Regions from separate parts of the Homo sapiens genome. Here region 2 is linked to region 1. The links are contacts of gene promoters, found by promoter capture Hi-C in human tissues and cell types (Jung and others, 2019). All regions are on one chromosome and are shown on one strand. The core of a region is centred on a gene start or on the middle of the fragment in contact, and the rest is flanking DNA. Distances in the headings are between cores, read along the strand shown.

The links. The method cuts DNA at HindIII sites, captures the fragments that hold promoters and counts their contacts. A contact is called where the count stands out against the background at its distance.
Region 2: a fragment that was not itself captured here is called in contact with the fragment with the promoter of GALNT15 in region 1 in 1 of the 25 tissues and cell types used here (H1 embryonic stem cells).

What each region holds. Positions count from the first base shown.
Region 1 is chr3:16,173,419-16,176,202 of GRCh38, reverse strand. It overlaps GALNT15 (polypeptide N-acetylgalactosaminyltransferase 15), which reads right to left and starts at 1,523. Exons shown (of 10, transcript NM_054110.5): 1 at 513-1,523. The coding sequence starts at 1,051. The HindIII fragment of the contact is 4,561 bases long and covers 548-2,784 here.
Region 2 is chr3:17,784,346-17,787,067 of GRCh38, reverse strand. No RefSeq gene overlaps it. Among named protein-coding and RNA genes, the nearest start is that of TBC1D5, 43 kb to the right of the region's middle. The HindIII fragment of the contact is 3,894 bases long and covers 1-2,722 here.

The DNA.
Region 1 (2,784 bases), core at 274-2,773:
AAGAGCCCCCTAAATGTAAACTGCAATTGTTATTTTGATCCAAACTAAAAGCAAACACTAACAATAACCCTAAAATCAAAATGTAGTGGAGTCAGAGTGTTAGAACTGGCAAATGTCTGCTCTAACCTCCCTTCTGTGTTATAGAAATAAAGCCATTTGACCTAAAGACAGAAGAACTAGAACCCAGGACGGAGAAGAGAATGAACAAGCAAGAGTCCTCACTTTCTGCTTTCTAGGACAATGATTCTCACCTGAAGGGCTTGTTCATACAGACCACTGGACCCCACCCAGAGTTTCTTGTTTGGCAGGTCTGGGATGGGGTCTGAGAATCTGCATTTCTGAGAACCCACCAGTGCCCAGGGGCTGCTGACGCTGCTGGCCCAGGTACTGCATCTTGAAAAGCACTTGCTCTAAGTCAGGAGAGGCAGGCTACGGAAAGTTTGCATTCCCGAGTTTGCTACCACCCGATCATGCCCTGGGATCAGGGAAGGGAAAACAAGGGCCTTACTTACAGTGGGTGCCGCACCTCGGGCAGAGCCCTCTGGAGGGGGATGCGGGCACTGAGTGCCTCCTGGAGGCCACGTGGGTCCAGGCTGAACGGGGTCAACTCCTCTTCTTCAGACACCTCCCCGTCCTCATCAGCCCCCCAGTCCCTCTTTGGGGCTTCCTTATCCTGCCTCCTTGGCTGCTTGATGAGGCGGTAGCTCCCACCTCTCCTGCCCTGGCTCTGGTTCCTTCTGGCCTGGGGTAAGGCCACGGCCACCAGCAGCTGATCCTCCCGCAGTGAGATAAAGGGTGGCAGGCCCTCCAGAGGGCTGTACTCTTCACCCTCATCCTCAGCTTCCAGTACCCAATCCTGGGATTCCCCAAAGTCCAGGCGGTACCTGGCTTCAGGGCTGTGCTTGCTGGCTTGGGCTGTGACAGTCTGGTGCAGGGTGTGGTGGGGAGGGTGCAACATCGCCACCATCATCAGGACGCATCCCAGCATCAGGAGCAGCAGGAGGAACTGGAGTCTGCATGGTCTGTGCCTGTATCGCTTCCTTAGGAGCATGTTGCTAGAACTTGCCAAATGCAACAGGTCATGTTCAAGTTAGCTTTCTCCCGCTCCAGGCTCCTTCAAGCTTGCAGCAGAACCTGGGTTGCTTGTTCCACCTGGAAGTTTTTCTGCCAGTCACTTAACCTGGTCCTGACATTTGCCAACAGCGTGTGCAAGACCTGCTTCCACTTACAATCAGAAAACCACAGGACCCAAGTTTCACCCCAAGTCCTCTCTGAGTGGATTTCTTTAATTGCCTTCTGAAAGCCCATTCACAGGGACTTCAAATTGAATTGCTTCCCTCCCTTTACCCCGGTTTTCTCCTTGGGAAAAAAATAATGATTCCATTCTGCTCAGGTGTTTCTTTCCCCCTTTGTATAAATAGGTTGCTATGAGGTGTCTGGGATGAGCTGGTGGGTTCTCAGTCAAGCAGGGCTGACAGCCGTCCCTCTTTGGACGCTTCCAGTCAGGTCAGATCAACAGATGTAAAGCCGGCAGGCAGTGCCTGGTTTCCTTTCACACATAGCTCCACTCAGCCGAGAGCCCTCTGCCAGACACAACCCAGAGCCAAGCGTGCGCGTCACTCCTGGTCCTAATGCCCTCACTGTTCCCAGGCTTTGCACAACTCGGTGTGGTCACTGCTAGAGCCAAATCAAAACAGGAATATCCCAAGAGTTCAGAAGGAAAGACTAATACCCTCTGATTCAGAAAGGCTGTGTGTGTGGCATAGCTGCAAGGAGCTGCAGCTGTCTGTTTGCAACCTCAGCCTCCCATGGGGGATCAGGCAAACTAGGTTGGACTCTCCTTCCCTTCCTGGGGACCACTGTCCCTGGCCTCCTGAAAATGAGGGAGCTAAGGGAGATGATCTTGCAAGTCCCTTCTTCTCCCACAAGAGCAGCTGAATGCCTGCTCTGCCCTGGCCACCAAGGGGGACGCTGGAAGAGGAGTGGCATGCTCTTTCCCTCATAAAGCTTCCTTCATTTAACCAACACATAATTAATGAACACATGCTATGTGCCAAAATTGTTCTGGGAACTGGAAGTAGAGCAATGAATAACACAGACAAAAATGTGTGTCTCATGGAGCTTGCATTCTAGTGACAGATACAATTAAAACTATCCACTGGGTCAGATAGTGATGAGGATGAAGGCAAAAAAGCAGAGCAGGGATGGGGCTGGGGAGCATGGGCTGGGCTTGGAAATGGACATTGAGTGGTGGAGAAAGGTTTCATGGAAGAGTTACCATTTGTGTAAAGGAGAGGGCTGCACAGCTATTTGAGGTTGAGTGTTCGGGGCAGACAGAATGATAAATGTGAAGGTTCCAAGGCAAGAGTATGCTGGCATGTCTGAGGAACAGCCGGCATGGCTGAAGCAAAGAGAGCAGGGTGGAGCCTGATGGGAAGTGGAATAAGAGAGGCAAGGGGGCGGGGGGCAGGAGGACCATGCAGGACACCCCCTGGTTGCATTGAAGGAACTTTGGCTTTTCCTCTGAGTGAGAGGGGAGCCCTTAGAGGAGAGACACAATCTGACTTGGGTTTTAACTGGATCATTCTGGCTGCTGGGTTGAGACTAATCAGTGGGGGGCAAAAAGCAGGAGCAGGGAGACCAACCAAGAGGTTCTTGGCTTGCACTAAGTGGCATCGGTGGTGACAGGGGTCAGCTTGTGGATATACTTTAAGGAAGAACCTATAGGATTTGCTGATGAATTAATGACTAATGTGAGAGGAAGAGAAGAGTCAAGATGAGTTC
Region 2 (2,722 bases), core at 173-2,672, 1.6 Mb before region 1:
TTATGAAGCTAACATTATCCTGACACCGAAGCCAGACAAGGATACTACAAGAAAAAAAAAAATTACACACCAATATTCCTGATGAAAATAGACGTAAAAATGCTCAAAAAAAGACTAGCAAACTCAATTCAACACCACATTAAAAAAGTTCATATACTGATTACATGGCATTTATCCTTGGGATGCAGGGATGAGTCAACATACTGTCTTTGTCTGTGCCTCTATAACAGAATACCTGAGATCAGGTAATTTATAAAGAATGTGAATTTATTTTTCACAGTTCTGGAGGCTGAAAAGTCCAAGCTCAAAGTGCCAGCCTCTGGTTTCTGATAAGGGCCTTCTTACCGTATACTCTGGGGGGAAGAAAGCTGAGTCCTCATGTGGAGGAAGGCAGAAGGACAAAAGGGATGAATTCCCTCTGTCAAGTCCTTTTATAACCCCATTCTCCTAACCCAAACTCCTCTCCAAAGGCCCCACCTCCCAGCACTGGTGCACTGGGGATTAAGTTTCCAATATTCGCATTTTCAGGGACACATTTAGATCATAGTACATACGCACATGAATAAGTGTGATATACCACATTAACAGAATGAAGGACAAAATCATACGATCATCACAACAGATGCAGAAAAAGCATTAGTAAATTCAATATCTTTTCATAAAACTTTTAACAGGCCAGGTATGGTGGCTCATGCCTGTAATCTCAGTGTTTTGAGAGGACAATGCGGGAGGATTGTTTGAACCCAAGAGTTTGAGACCAGCCTGAGCAATATAAACAGACCTTGCCTCTAACCAAAAAAAAAAAAAAAAAAAAAAAAGAAAGAAATTAAGAAAACAATGCCACTTACAATAGCACCCAAAAAAATAAATAAATAAAATACTTAGGCATAAAATTAACCAAGGAGGTGAAAGTGTATACACTGAAAACTATAAAAGATTTGTTAAAGAAATTGAAGACACAAATAAATGTGAAGATATCTTGCATTCATGAATTGGAAGAATTTAATATTGTTAAAATGTCTATATGACCAAAAGCAACCTACAGATTAAATGCAACCCCTATTAAAATTCCAATGGCATTTTTCACAGAAATTTTTTTTTAATCTTAAAATGTATATGGAACTACAAAAGAGTCTGAATAGACAAAGCAATCTTGACCAAGAACAAAGCTGGAGGCATCACACTACCTGATTTCAAAATATGTTACAAAGCTATAGTAACCCAACATCATGCTACTGGCATATAAACAGACATACAGACCAATGGAACAGAGTAGAGAGCCCAGAAATAAAGCCACACACTTAGATTGGTCTTTGACAAAGGTGTCAAGAACACACAATGGGGAAAAGACAATCTCTTTAATAAATGGTTCTGGGGTCAGGCCTGGTGGCTGACACTGGTTATCCCAGCACTTTGGAAGGTTGAGGCAGGAGGATTGTTCAAACCTAGGAGTTTGGGGCTGCAGCGAGCCATGAGCATGCCCCTATACTCCAGCCTGGGTGAAAGAACAAGACTGTCTATAAAAAATAATTTTTAAAATTATGTTTGGAAAACTAGATATCTACACATAGAATAATGTAATTGAACCCTTATTTTACACTAAATTAAAAACTCAACTTGATATGGATTAAAAACTTAAAATCTGAAACAGAAAATCTACTAAAGAAATACATTTGAAATAAGCTTCTTGACATTGGTCTGGGCAATAATCTTTTGGCTATGACCCCAAAAGCACAGGCAACAACAGCAAAAATAACAAATGGTATTGCATCCAACTAAAAACCTTCTGCATAGCAAAGCAAACAATAGCAAAGAGACCACCTATAGAATGGGAAAAATATTTGCAAATCATATATCTGATATGGGGTTAATATCTGAAATATATAAAGAACTCAACTCAATAGCAAGAAAACAAATAACCAGATTTTTTAAACAGGCGACGGTTTTGAATAGATACATCTCAAAAGAAGACATAAGAATGGTCAAGAGATATATGAAAATATGTTCAGTATCACTAATCATCAGTGAAATGCAAATCAAAACCAGGATGAAATATCATCTCATACCTGTTAGAATGGCTATCATCAAAAAACAAAAGATAACAAATATTGGAGAGGATATGGAGAAAAGGGAACCCTTCCACAATGTTGCTGAGAATGTAAATTTATTCAGTCATTAAGGAAAACAGTTTGGAGAATCCTAAAAAATTAAAAGTAGAACTACCATATGATCTAGAAATCCTACTTCTGGCTGTACATACAAAGGAAATGAAATCAGTATCTCAAAGAGATAGATATCTGCACTTTTTTTTTTTTTTTTTTTGAGATGGAGTCTTGCTCTGTTGCCCAGGCTGGAATGCAGTGGTGCCATCTCGGCTCACTGCAAGCTCCACCTCCCGGGGTCACGCCATTTTCCTGCCTCAGCCTCTGGAGTAGCTGGGACTACAGGGGCCCACCACCATGCCCGGCTAATTTTTTTGTATTTTTAGTAGAGACAGGGTTTCACCGTCTTAGCCAGGATGCAGATATCTGCACTTTCATGTTCATAGTAGCCTTATTCACAATAGCTGAGATATAGAATCTACCATTGACCAATAAGTGGAAAAAGAAAATGCAGTATATATTTACAGTGGCATATTATTCAGCCTTAAAATAAGAAGGAAATCCTGTCATTCATGACAACCTGGTAAACTGGAGGACATTAGGCTAAGTGAAATAAGCCA